Linked DNA regions of Homo sapiens: region 1 is linked to region 2. The links are contacts of gene promoters, found by promoter capture Hi-C in blood cells and fetal thymus (Javierre and others, 2016). All regions are on one chromosome and are shown on one strand. The core of a region is centred on a gene start or on the middle of the fragment in contact, and the rest is flanking DNA. Distances in the headings are between cores, read along the strand shown.

Region 1 (6,986 bases), core at 2,361-4,860, 960 kb after region 2:
ACCGTCTGTGAGTGCTGGGGCCTCGCCTGCTGCTCCTCGGGCGCCGGGTGGTCTCTGCTCTGGGGCGGGTGCGGTGAGGACCACAGGGGAGCCGGGCGGGTGCTCGGCCCCGCGGCGGCGGCGACGGCTGTGGGTGTGTGCACGAATTTGGGCGCGCGTCTGGGGTCGGGGTTAGGAGCCCAGGGGCTCAGTTACGTGATGCAACAGTGGATCGCCTCGTCGCGCCCCTCTTCTGGGAATGCGAAAGAAAAAGGACCCCTCTCCTGTTCCCTTTAAAATAATTCTTTGAGGCGCGGCGTGTCTCAGCCGCCTCCCTCTGCCCGCGCACCTCTTCCCTCGTGACAGCCAGAAGGGCGCCGGGTTCGGGGCTTTCCTCCAGTCTCCCCCGCGCCGAGGGGGCGCTCAGGGCATGGGAATTGCGAGCTGAAGTGCTGCGTGTGGCACTGCTGTAGAAGCAGGTCAGAGGGGTGGGATTTCCGTGGTGGCCTCCCCAGCGCATTGTGAGATCCCGGACACCCTCGGGCATCCACCCGGCTGAGCGGGCCCTGCCCAGGATGTGGACAAAGCCCCAGATAACACACACAAAGTTTTCTGGAGGCTCCCTTGTGGTGTGGGTGGAAGGACTGAAATGTTCTGCGGCTGAAAGGCCGGGGGCGGCGGGCTGAGGAGGCTGGGACGCGAGGAAGAGGAAGGGCGGGCGGGTGCGTGAAGAATCGAGTGCCCCACGGCGGGAGGGAGGAGAGTAGGAGGGAGGAGATACCTTTGCCCCGAGTGTGTGGGCCAAGGCGCCGCGCCTACTGGGTTGCAAGACTCGGTCCGCGCCCCGGGGCCGGGCCGGAGGGGAGCGGGACTCCGAGGGTGCGGTTCAGTGGCCGCTCCGCATCCCCAAGTGAAAGGCGGAGGAAGGGGCGGCGGCGGCCTTTCCTTTTTTTTGAAAGGAGCGGAGCTGGGTGGGAAAGGCGGAGTCCTCCTGTTTTCCCTTTCCCCTTTTCATCGTCGATGTTCACAGTCCACTCGCCTTACTGGCTTTGGGGGCGCCTCGGGCGATGTCTTTCCCTGTCTATCACCTCCTCTTCCCTTTTTCTTCTTCCCTTTCCCACAGCTGTGCAGCTGCAGGTGGTGGCTCGGGAGATTTTGTAGTTACAGACGAAAGACTTACTGAGATACTGGAAGCTCGGAAATCCCAGAAATGCAAGGCTGTGCTCTCAGGCTCCCGGCTCTTCCCCCTCTCCCCGCCTAACTCCTCCCCAGATACGCGCGCCTTTTGCACCCTACCCCCTCGGGAGAAGTTCATGGGTCCCTTTGCGGATTCTAATTCGATTTGGTGGTTCGGCTGCCCGCGGTGCTTTCAAAGACGTTTTCTGCAGTCAGAAAACACAGCGGTCATATCGAATCATGACTGTCTTTTAGGCCTTTTCAACTCTACGATTTAATGACATGGCTCTTTTAAGAATTCTGGTCTTCTTTTGCACATAAATTGTGCTCTTGATAATTAGTGGTCACATGTAGGTTATTGTTACTGAGGGAATTTGCATAGTCTCTGGGCTAGTCGTTTTATTTTTGGTGAGAAAATTGAGGTCTATAGAGGTGAAATTTATCTGGTTAAATTACTCCTCCCCCTGCCCCCCATTATACTTATTAGCAGGCATAGATTCAGAGAACTAAAATAACAATATCTGCTTTAGATAAATTGGCAAACGTTTAGGATTGCAAATATTCAGTGGGGGTGTTTGGCTTTTTCAGTAACACGTATTATTGCTGGTGCATTCTTGAGGGATGGAGGAGGTGGAAGAAATAATTAGCTGCACATTTTCTATAAATTAGTTCATATATGTCAGTTAAATAGGAACAGTATGTGGATTTAAGGTTTAGTTGTGTGGCCGTAATCACATCCAACACCAAGTCGGCCAACCATATGTGAGCTTAATCCCACAGAATTCTTATGTTAGACCTCCCTCTTCAGATAATAGAGGAGATTTTTTTTAAGTATACGTGCACAGAGGAAGTGACTTCTTTCTGCGCACTCTGTTGTCACTGGAATTAAAATTAAATTACAATCTAAAGACAGAAGACTTTTCTTTTGGAAACCTAATGTACGAGTGATTAGGAATTGACTATAAAGTTAGAAAGTCTACAGAAAATATGTGATCACATTTCACAGATAATTGTTGAATCCTTTCACTTTGTTCATTGGGCTATTGTCTTAAGTGTGGTCTCTGCAGTTATGGCTTTAAAACAAAGTCAATGAATGGGGAAGACTCTTGAGACACAGCTCCATGGAATCTACACTGCACCTTTAAAGTTAAGAGTTCTCTGGCCCTCCCATTTCTTATCTAGTCTGTGATTTCACCAAAAGAAAGGAAGGGTGCGCTGAGGGAAAAGAACCACTCCGAAGTTGATTTATGTGTGAATGGAATTTCCCTAGGTATTTAATTAGATTTTTTAAAAAGTTATTTAGGACATATATCTCCTTTTGCGATAACTACCTCTCCCCGCCAGACTGAAGAAAAATGCAATCTGAATAACTTACCCTAAATTTTTGATATTCTTGAATGGGAACATCTGAGTGTGATATCCCAGGTAAATATGACATTTTAGTGGGCAAAAATGCTTACATGTCAAATGCACTATTTTCTATCTTATGAAATGGTTATATTCTGTTACAAACCATTCAAACCTCAAGGCTAAATTCAGGTAAGTTTCTTAAGTGGATTTGTTGTTGACTGCAAAACAAAGCTTCAATTTAGTGTGATACTGTTTATTTCAGTTTTAATTTTGATCCCTAGCTTCTCCATTTCCCCACTGATGGTTTTTGGGCTTAGCCCTAAGAAGACCCTGAAGCACATCTGCTGTTTGCCTAGTATAACTGATGATTAGCAAGAACATTTTACTCCCAAGGGATGTGTCTGCATTTTGGATGAATTAGCATTTTTGCGTCCAAATCCCGGGGCAGCTATTATCTTTATTTTAAACAGAACATGGCAATTTACTCTACTTGGGAATCAGGCTTTATGTAGCTGATGGCCTCTCCTAAGCTGTGGTGTTCATCAGTTTAAAAACTCTAGGAGTTGAAAGGAACGTTAGAGGTCATTTGGGTTAGCCTGCTCCCCAGTGCAGAAATATTTCTTACTTTATCCCTAACAAAAAATATGTGTTTAAACTTCACTGGTGGTGGAGATTTCCCTATGATATCCTTCAAGAAATGCACTTAATTGCTGTTTTATCTGTTGAGCTGAAGGAAATGGAAAACCAAGTTTCCATTTGCTCATTTAACACCATTTATTAAGCACCTGCTATGTGTCAGGAACTTGTTCTAGGTGTTGGGGATATAGCAGTGGACAAGTTTTCTTCTTACCAGGAGCTTTATTGTTTGAGAGATTTGGTGTATTAAAGTGACAGACTTCAGTGTAAATGTGTAAATCATTTAGGGAGAAAAGGAATTATATGCCTATTGCTGACTCAGCAAATATGATTCAGGTGAAGGATCATATCTGTCTGGGGATAATTATAGGCAATTCTTAAAGATGAGGGCAGGGAGTGTGGGAAGTGGAGGAGTACTGCCAATAAAATGTTACTTTCCCTTGTTATAAAATTGCCATTTTTGTGACTTGAAAATGTGGCCCCAGATGGATGGCTGTGGTCGGTGTGCCTGGAGAAACATGAATGGAGCCAAGAAAGGTCCAGGGGAGGGCCACCTAAACAATAAAGGGACTGTCATCTCAGGTCAGTTTTCAAAAATTAGAACTTTTTAGTCAGTGATATAAATTATACATACTGAGGCTCTATAAGCAGTTATTAAGGAATGCAAGAAGTTTCTGAGGTACAATAATCTCTCCTTTTAAAATCTTTCGAAAGTTATAGATTAATTTATCTTTTAAATTATCATCTTTAAAAATGATGTGTCTACATTACAGTGAAAAGGAGACCCAAGGAATTGATTAAAAGAACAAAACTGCCCATAACCCACTATCCTGATATAATAGTTCTTAGGTGTTTAGTCTATTTCACCACTTTTTTGAGCAGACATAACCCATCTTGTATAAACTGCCACCTAGAAACCAAACTGTGTGCCTGAATGAGTCCTGTGTGACCATTTGAATAATACTCTTAAAATGAAGGAAGTGGATGCTTAGTGTTTGGGCATGGGCCATCCTATGTCTGCAAAAGGAACAAATGATTGTGGGACTCTGCTGTTTCCTTGATTTGGATGGCCTACTTGATTGATTGCCAGCAGACCAAGTGTTTATATTCTACCCAATGATGATGTCACACTGATCATGATCATCGGATTTAGACTGTGGCGCAGCCCACAGAGTTTTCTGTGCCTGTGTTTCTCTTTATAGGACTCTAAATTTGGTTGGGGATAGACGCTGCTCTTGGATTTTATCATTTTATTGGGATCCATCTTTCATAGTCTTAGCTAGACCTGTCTCAAATGGGGTTAGCAAAGCTGAACCATTATTTAAATGAAACCCAACACATCTAAAGCTTCTATACTTTTTTCCAAGGAGATCTACTTTACAATATAATTGATAACCTCCCCCGCCCCCTTTTTAAAAATCTGGATTGACAGAAAACTCTCAAATAACAATACTTCCCCTGACCCACTCATGCCTGCTGGCAGCCCATCAATGCAGCAGCTGTTGAACATAAAAACAATACTTGGGCTAAGGTAATAGAGACAGACTTCTAAAAGGAATTTGCTGGGCGATCTAAAATGAAATTCACATTGTTCCAGGCTTGACCTGAGATAGAAATCAGGAGTCTGTTCCCTGATATGACAAAGCCAAGGCACCAGAGCCACCTCTTTTTAGGATCGACGCCAATGAGTGTGAGCACATCGCTCAAGCCAAATGGCACAGGAAGTCCAGTTCTGTGGACACATTCTGCCCACCTGCTGAACTGTGACTGGGTAGGATGGAGTGTGAAACATTGAGAGAGGGGTAGGCTGAGGTGGTGAGGTGGGAAAGAGACCATATTCTAAAAGGACCATTTTTCTGACAAGTGGGAGCTTTGTTTGTTCTTGTCTGTGTGTGATTTCTTTTTTATTTATTTATTTATTTTTTTTTGCATTTTTATTGTACAAAAAGGAAATGAAAATATATATAGCATAACATTAAAATTTACCTACTTGTTTTTGATAATAACATTCCTTTGGGAAGAATTGATTTTTTTTCTCTTATAGAAGTTGAGGCACAATAATGTGGATAGGTTAGAGATTGAAAAACAAAATAATCCTCAACACCCTAACACATCAGTACTCATTCTTGCCTTTCCAACCCACCTGTTTTATCAGACATTTCTTGTGTACCTTCTATATGCAGGTGCTGAAATTATGTTGGTGAGTACTTGACTGCAGTCTTTGCTGCTCTCATGAAATCTCTCTATAGGCTGAGTAAGCAATAGGATTTAGCAAGGAAAGGGAGATGGGGAGGTGGTTGTGGAAGTGTTCCAAGCCCAGGAAACAGCATGTGCCAAGCTCTGGAAGTGAGGGAGAGACTCTTAAGAAATCCAATGTAGCAGGAACGTCAGCCTTAGGGTTGGGTAGGGAGAGTGGACAGACAAGAGGCTGAGGAGGTGGGAAGAGACTCAGTTGTGCAGTGCATTCTTTATAGGCATGTATTTACTGTGTAGCTCTTTAAATGCTTTATATTCCATCCACCCTTTGCCCATAACTTAAGATATCTCAGATCCTTGAAATTGGTTGAAGGAAGACAAAGAAAATCTGCAGACTACTAATTCTTCAGGATTCAATAGGAGAGTTGAGAAACGATCAGGGGAGTTGATTCCTTTCATGCCCAAATTGAACCCTTAAAGAATAGAGGAAATGAAGACTGACAGAGGACACAGAGAAGGAGAGTCCAGTGACAACATATGACAACGACAATGCTAGATCTTCCTCTGCCCAGTTTTATGCATTGAGCCTTTCCTCAGGATTCAGAACTAGAAGTTATTATTTTCTTAGACCTAAGCAACTGAGTCCTGAAGAGTGTGGTGGGGCTGGGGGGGAAGATGGTAGGACTCTTTCCACCTTGGACTTCAAGTGGCAATCAGTGTTCTCCAAAAAGGAAATTAAAAACTCATTGGATTTTATGAAAACAGGAGAAGAGTCTGTTAAAAGCCAGGGTTTACTTAAGACTTCATGCTGTTTTAGTTATCTCATCTCTTTGAGTACTGTCTTCATACCAGTATAAATTTTGTGAATCTCATTAAGGTACTCATTAAACTTACTCTGACCTGCTGTTGGAGGGCAAAAGGCTTGACCAAAAACTTCTGTGCACGGGAAGCTTGTTCAGCATCTTGATTTTCAAATTTATTCAATTCAAATTACTGTCAAGACAATTATCTCACCTTATACTCACAAAATACCTGAGAAGTAATATAGAGAAGGAAAATGAGACAGGAAGAAGTTGTCAGTTAATCTGCTACAGCAAATTTGTGGGAGAGCTAGGCTTTGGAACCAAAGGCTTTTAGACCAACATGCATACAGACCTCCCATCTGATTCAGTCAGTTAAGCTAAATTATGTTGCGGTAACAAATTGGCCCCATGTTTTGGTGGCTTACATAGCAAGGGTTTATTTCTCATGCAGCTGTTCCACCCTCGGAGGTCTGCTGCATACTGCATTGCCTCCAGGACCCAGGCTGAGGGAGTATCCTCTATCTGGGCATTGCCAGCCTGGTGGCAGAGGACAAAGAGACATGCTGAACCCTGGCTTCTCAAGAGCTGGCTTCTCAAGCTCTTAGATGGGTCACTTCCATGCAGATTGTATTGGCCAAAGTAAATGGTCATTCCTAAATTCAAAAGAATGAGGATAGAGAATCCTCCTGTAAAGAGTGGCTCTGAAAGACCCTTGGGCTGGGGAAGTAAATCCCCCTCTAGGGAGGGCAGTGAATATTTTGAATAACAGTTGGCTAGATTCCTAGTCAAGGAATCTACTATGAAGCCAAGTCTTTATTTTTAAAATTGTATCCCTGTCTGTAAGGA
Region 2 (7,386 bases), core at 4,247-6,746:
AATATCCTTTCTCCTCAACTGTCCTCACCCCCAGCTTTGAATCTTATGCCACAAGACCCACTATTCCTCCTTGTAGTCATCTAAAGACTAGAGTTATCCTCACATTCCTTCAACATTTCAGCTCTTTGCTCACTGTCTTCTCACCCTCTATCTCAATTCCTGTTATAATACTTGGTGATTTCGTATCCACATGGAGGGTCTTCCCAATACTCTGGCCCCTCATTACCCTGACTTCTCCTCCTCTAATCATCTTGAACTTACTGTATCTTAGCACTCACTTCCATGGTCACACCCTAAATGTTGTCATTACCAATAACTATATTACAACTCCATAATCTCAACTAGAGGTATATTCCTCTCCAACCACATCTCTTATTTTCCAAACTCCAACGATCCTTCAATCTCATCAGAATCCACAGTCCACTAAGCCTACTACCTTTCCACTGCACCTAAGTAACCCCCACGCCAACTTCCCTTCTCATCCAGCTTCAATTCCATGATCAATCATTATAATCACCTCCATGCGTATACTTCAACTCACTTGCCCATTTCTCTTATCATTATACCCATTTGGTAAAATGCCCACCCTGTGCTTTCCTTCTCTACAGCTATACTCCCAGAGCTGAACATGGTTGGAGAAAATCGGCTAATTGGTGTCATTTTATTTTTTTCATTTTAATTTTTTTTAGAGCCAAGGTCCTGCTCTGTCGCCCAGGTTTCCGTGCAGTGGTGCTATCATGGCTCACTGCAGCATCAAACTCCTGGGTTTAATCAATCCAACTGCCCTAGCCTCCCAATTAGCTGGGACTATAGGCACAAATTCATAACTACAAACCTCAATTAAGCCCTGCGTGTACTCCAGCAATCTCATTACATTTCTCTAGTCCCTTCACTTTCCCACTTTTCTGGACAACCATTTCATACTTTGCAATCTGTCCTCCAACCTCACTTTTTCCCTGTCCCCATTCTCAGCAGATGATCTTATCTCCAATTTCACTAGGAATATAAGCAATCTGAGGATAATTTCCATTTAACCACCTATCTTCTCCTGTGCCCATATACTTTACCTTCTCTCCTACTACAAAAGCTATCAGGCCACCATCTAAGGCTAGCCCCTCCAGTTATGCATTAGATTCTAAACCCTGTAATGTCACTCAATCAAGGTCTTTGCTTCACTAGTCCCCACCTCCCATTTCCTGCCTCAACAGGTTCTGCCCCATCAGTATATAGACATGCTGTTCTTTCTGCCATCTTAAAAACAAAACAAAACAAAACAAAACAAAAAACACCTTTCTTGGTTGGGCATGGTGGCTCATGCCTGTAATTCCAGCACTTTGGGAGGCTGAGGCAGAAAGATTGCATGGTTTCAGCTTGGAGACCAGCCTGGGCAACTAGCAAGACCTCATCTCTACAAAAAAATCAACTGGGAATGGTGGTTGCACACTTGTGGTCCCAGCTACCCTGGAGGCTGAGGCGGGAGGATTGCTTGAGCCCAGGAGGTTGAGGCTGCAGTGAGCCGTGATCACACCACTGAACTCTGGCCTGGGCAACAGAGCAAGACTGTGTCTTAAAAAAAAAAATCCTTTCTTGATTCCACTTTACTCTGTACCTTCTACTCTATTTCTCTCTTCAGAAAAAGTCCTTTAAAGAGTTGTCCATATGTTACCTAATTGCCCTCCTTTTTCAAAAAATCCTTTAAATTGAGATATAATTCATATACCATAAAATTTACCCTTTGAAAGTATACAATTCGGTTCTTCAGTATATTCACCAAGTTGTACAACCATAGGTTTTTCATCATCACCAAAAGAAACCCCAATCCATTAGCAGTTATTTCCTATACCCCTTACCCTCAGCTCTGGCAAACACTAGTCTACTTTCCATCCATATAGATGCACCTATTCTGGACATATTCTATTCATATACATTTCATATACATAGAATCATACTCCAATTGTTTTTAAACCTTCTGTAATCAGATTTTTGCACCCATTCCTCTTCCCAAACTGCTCAATGAATCAGGGTAGCCAATGACATCCATGTCGCTAATTTTTTTTTGTTTTGTTTTTCTGAGATGGAGTTTCATCTTGTTGCCCAGGCTAGGGTGCAGTGGCGCGATCTCGGCTCACTGCAACCTCCGCCTCCCAGGTTCAAGCAATTCTCCTGCCTCAGCCTCTGGAGTAGCTGGGATCACAGGTGCCCGCCACCACACCTGGCTAATTTTTGTATTTTTAGTAGAGATGGGGTTTCACCATGTTGGTCAGGCTGGTCTTGAACTCCTGACCTCAGGTGATTCACCCACCTTGGCCTCCCAAAGTGCTGAGACTACAGGTGTGAGCCACCGTGCCCGACCCCATGTTGCTAAATTTAATGGTGGTCAACTTTTGGTATTCATCTTATTTGACTCATCAGCATCTGATGTGCTTGGGTTCTCCCTCCCTTGGGAACATCTTCTATACTTGGCTTCCAGAACACCTCCTGGTTTTCCTCGAAACTTCACTGGCTGCTTTCTCAGTCCCTTTTTCCAGTTACTTAGAAACTCACTGGCCTTTAAATGTTGGGAATCCCCAGGGCTTTCTCTACCTACCCAATCCAGGATCTAATCACCCTTCTTACTACTTCCTGTTACCATCCTAGCACCACTCAACCCAGCATCATCTCTTGCTGTGGATAATTCCAATAGCTTCTTATGTGGTGTCTCTGCTTCTATCTTTGCCCTCCTACATACAGTCTATCCTCAAGTAACGGTGATCTTGTTCTCATATAGGGTGGTTCATGTATTCTTCTGCTCAAAACCCTGTAAAGGCTTCCATCTCATTGGGAGGTAGAATCCCAAATTCACCCCCTTTCCTCATTCCCTATTTGGAGCCACACTGGCCTTTATGTTCCTGAAATCTACCAGGCATACCTACCCCAAGGTCTTTATACCTTCTGTTCCTTCTGCCTAGATCATTCTTCCTAAACATATGCACAGCTCTCCCTCATGTCCTTCAGGTTTTCACTCAAAGATTACTATCTCAAGAAGACCTTCCCTAACTATCCAATTTAAAACTGCAATACCCATCTCACCCCCAACATACATAAGTACTTTCCTATTGTCTTTTTTTCACAGCACTTTTCATTATTTAACATACTATATTATTTGTTACTGTATATCACCCCCTACTAGAATGTCATTTAATGAGCATAGAATTTTTATCGGTACAGCTCAATATTATGTAGTCCCAGGGCCCAGCATTGTGCCTTACATATAGCAGGTAATCAACAGTATTTGTCAAATGAACGAACTTCAGGAAATGGCACTATCATCTACCTAGACATATAAATAAAAAACCTGGGTGATCCTTCATTCCTTCTTTTTTCCTTATCCCCCACATCCACTCCACCAGAAATCCCAAGGCTCTACTAGCTCTACCTCCACGTAGAACAGCACGAATCTTTGCCCATAATTCCAATGACACCACAATCCCTTGCTTGGTTATTCTGAGATCCATTATATTAGTTACCCTGCTTCCAGTGTTGCTCCTCTACAAGCCATTCCACATGTAACTTCCAGAGTAAATTCTTAAAAAAAATATGTCAGATCATGTCACTCTCCTGCTTAAAACTCTTCAATCACTCCCCGAGGCACTCAGAGTGAAATCTAAACTCGTTAACAGGGCCTAAGAGGCTCTGAATAAGCTGACCCCTGCCTGCATTTCCTACATCATCTTCCACTGCCCTCTTCTATGCTGACTACACTTTAGCTACACTGGCTTCTTCTCTGCTTTTTTTCCACCAGTAGCTTCTGCACTTTCTATTCCTTGTACCTAAAATGATGTTTACCTGCCTGGCTCAATATCATCATTGCAGAGCCACCTTCCCTGTTTACGGGGTCTAAATCAGAAGCCTCCAATTCTAACCTATTCCCATCCAGTTTTATTTTCTTCATAATCTCTACCATAATAAGTCTACACTCACTTGAATGTAAGTCCAAGAGAAGAATGCTTTCTTATCTGTCTTATTCATTACTGTACCCCAACGCCTACCTAGAATAACAACACACAGTAGTTATATGTGATTTTGCATATATACTTAAGTGAATTAAAGAAGTAGTTATTACCCCCTTCTTACATATTAAAATACCCACATAGGCTCAGCGATTAACCTGCTTCGGTTACACAACTGGTTAACAACAGTCAGCAGCAGGAGTTATCTAACGGAATTATATAGACTCTCAACTTACCACTTTCTTTGCGAATGGCTATACAATGCTTTAAGCATCTCAAAGCCTTGCCTATGTTACTTAACTTCTTGTACTTGTTTCCTACTCTTTATTTCCACTACCTTGATCCTTGGAGAGGCTTTCTCTACTGGTGACCTAAGCCACTGAGATTGCCATGTGTTAAAAAGCACTCATAAAATACATATATGTGAAAATTTAGGGGAGGAGGGAAGTGAGAAGGGCAATGAAAAAATAAGTAATTGTGTTAGCCACTGAACAAATCACAATCTGGTAGAAGCACAAACATGTAATTGCAGCAAATGCCTAGCAGAGATACCTGTTTAATGCCCGTCTGATAAATGAGTGTCTGAAGGAAGCACCTGTCAGATTAATATATCAAAAACCACTTTCGTTTTGTCGGTACTTGGTTCAAACACCCCTAATGTTCACAACTTACATGAGGTCAGTACACAAAGCCCATCACAATGAGGGCCTAATTTTTCAACCTAATCTTTTCCCGAAGCAAATTCTGACATCCGAGTCATGCCAGTCTCCGGTAAGTTTGAATCCTGGCTTAACTAAATATACTAAGCTCCCGAGTCTGTCCGTTGTGCTTGAGAAACCCCCCCCCCCCCTTTCCTGGCACAGTCCAGGGTACACAGCCTGCTCTCAGAAACGGACGTCAATCGAAAGCATTCTAACATACGATTCATCAAAGGTTACCGACTAATTCAAGTTTGGGATTTCTGAAAAGAGGCTGAGAAATCCGCGTGGAAGTTGGTGGTTGGGTGCGGCCCATTTCTCTCTCCACTTCCGTGCGGACGAAGAAAAATATCTTAAAACAAAATGAGGTTTTAAAGGTGTTTCAGCGGCAGCAGGGCAGGTAGAAAATCCAAAGGGGCAACAGATTTTCAAGAGGTGGGGAACGAACCCTAAGGCATGTCCCGTCCCCAACCCCTTCTCTCCTCTGGAGGGACCCCTGAACCTAACAGAAGAATAGGCGGCGAGCCTGGATCCCAGCCCCACTCCATGCTTTCCCGCACCGGCGTCTCAACCATCCACTATCCGGCCTCTAGCGTCTGCCGCGCCGCACTCCCACCTCCTCGATGTAGGCCGGCGGGTCTCGCTTGATTAGATTCTGTAACTGCGGCAGGTTGCTGGGAAGCTTGTTGTTGTTTCTGTTGGACATTTTGGCTGCAGACAGACTTCGCGGCGAGCAGTTTTAAAAAAACTCAGACGGCCGGCACCCCGCAATCCCTGCCAGCTGCAGCTTGGACTCGTGTTTCCGGGTATGACCGGAAATAGCGCATGGGACTCTAGGCAGGCGACACCTTAGCGGTTCCTAAAGCGAGCTATGCTACGGAAGCCTCAGAGTGTCAAAATTACTCTCGTTGCCAAAATACTCTGTGGTGTATTGGAGAGCCAGCCACCGCCGACCCGCCCCTCGCCCTTGGGCATATGCTACTACTTAATATTGCCTTGCGTTTCTGAAAGGATCTGAAATGTAAATTTTTTCACGTGTGTTAGCATGTATCGTCATTCCGACACCCATATGAAGCACATAAATGAGGATTAATCGTTTATTTTTAATCCCGCAGTCTAAAATTAGAAACTGACGCCTGTAATCCCAGCACTTTGGGAGGCCAAGGCGGGCCTGAGGTCGGGAGTTCGAGACCGGCCTGATCCACATGGAGAAACCCCGTCTCTACTAAAATTACAAAATTAGTCGAGCGTGGTGGCGCATGCCTGTAATCCCAGCTACTAGGGAGGCTGAGGCAGGAGAATCGCTTGAACACAGGAGGCGGAGATTGCGGTAAGCCGAGATTGCACCATTTCACTCCAGCCTGGGCAACAAGAGCGAAACTCCGTATAAAAAACAAAACAAAACAAAACAAAACTGAAAAGAACCGTGGCGCTAGATAACACTATTCCCTCTTAGGAGGAAAAAAGAGCAACGAGGGTCATATAAGTTAATGTGTATGATTTTAGATATGTTTTTATTTTGGTTTTGGTTGTTTCAACTTAGCGTGACCCATACAAGGGAAAAGAGGGCTGGATAAAATGTGATCATGTTGACCATTAATAAATGCAATTAATCGTTAAAATTCAACCATCGTTATAAGCTTTGTAAGCACTCCTCAGTCAGAGTTTTTAATTCAGATCCTGGTAATTCGAAGAGGAGAATACATTTCTACAATCTCAAGGTGTAAAAAATCAATAAGGGTTGAATGAATGAGGTAGGGTGTTGTGAATTAGAGAGAGAGAAAAAAAAACCTAATTACCCACCCTGTGCCAGGCACTATTCCAAGCACTTGTATTAACTTATTTAATCCTCAGAACAACCCTCTAAAATAGGTGCTATTGTTATCTACATTTTACAGAAGAGGAAACAAGCTCAGGGAAGTTGACTGCCTCAATTCATAGCCTGTGAGGAAGATGAGATTTCAATCTAGACAGTCTTGATTGTAACTACATGAGAAAAAACATAGCCTAACAGCTGGTAGCTGGTTGCTGGTCTGGCAAAATAGCCAGACAATAGGGTTCTGCTTAACCAAAGCAATTTTATAGAACGCCAACCTCATCTGTGACGATGATAAAATGAGCCCCAAACAAAACAACTCTGTAATCACACCTGCACACAAAATAAAGAATGCTTCACAAACCATGTTATTCAGCTGCTTTTGGAGAATGACTTATTTATTAATTATCAAATCAGTTACCTGTGAAGTTAAGAAATAAATGTCAGCAATAAATCTTTTTTAAAAAGCATAGATTTAAATTAAAATTTTTTGGCTAGGTTGTTTTAGTGAGGGCAAAAAAAGTATTCTCAAAACAAAATCTGGCTAAGTGTGGTAGCTCAAGCCTGTAATCCCAGAACTTTGGGAAGCCAAGGTGGGAGAACCACTTGAGCTGGGTAGTTCAAGACTAGCCTGGGCAATATAGTGAGACCCCATCTCTACCAAAAAGTTGAAAAATCAGCCAGGCATGGTGGCACAGGCTTGTGGTCCAAGCTACTGAGGAGGCTGAAGCAAAAGGGTTGCTTGAGCCCAGGAGGTTAAGGTTGCAGTGAAGCACTGCACACCAGCCTGGGCAATACAGTGAGACCCTGTCTCAAAAAAAAAAAAAAAAGAAAAAAGACTGCGTACAGGTACTTGAAAATGTCTGGTGTATTGAAACAATAG

What was found. The method cuts DNA at HindIII sites, captures the fragments that hold promoters and counts their contacts. A CHiCAGO score of 5 or more calls a contact.
Region 1: a fragment that was not itself captured here is called in contact with the fragment with the promoter of SDAD1 in region 2 in 2 of 17 cell types (total CD8 T cells and activated CD4 T cells); the score reaches 5.8 in total CD8 T cells.

Annotation. Positions count from the first base shown.
Region 1 is chr4:76,949,924-76,956,909 of GRCh38, forward strand. SEPTIN11 (septin 11) reads left to right here. Exons shown (of 10, transcript NM_018243.4): 1 at 1-7. Among named protein-coding and RNA genes, the nearest start is that of SEPTIN11, 3.7 kb to the left of the region's middle. RefSeq lists a silencer at 1-123. The HindIII fragment of the contact is 1,752 bases long and covers 2,735-4,486 here.
Region 2 is chr4:75,985,449-75,992,834 of GRCh38, forward strand. It overlaps SDAD1 (SDA1 domain containing 1), which reads right to left and starts at 5,497. Exons shown (of 22, transcript NM_018115.4): 1 at 5,304-5,497. The coding sequence starts at 5,393. All of the region lies in intron 1 of SDAD1-AS1 (SDAD1 antisense RNA 1), which reads left to right. The HindIII fragment of the contact is 958 bases long and covers 5,368-6,325 here.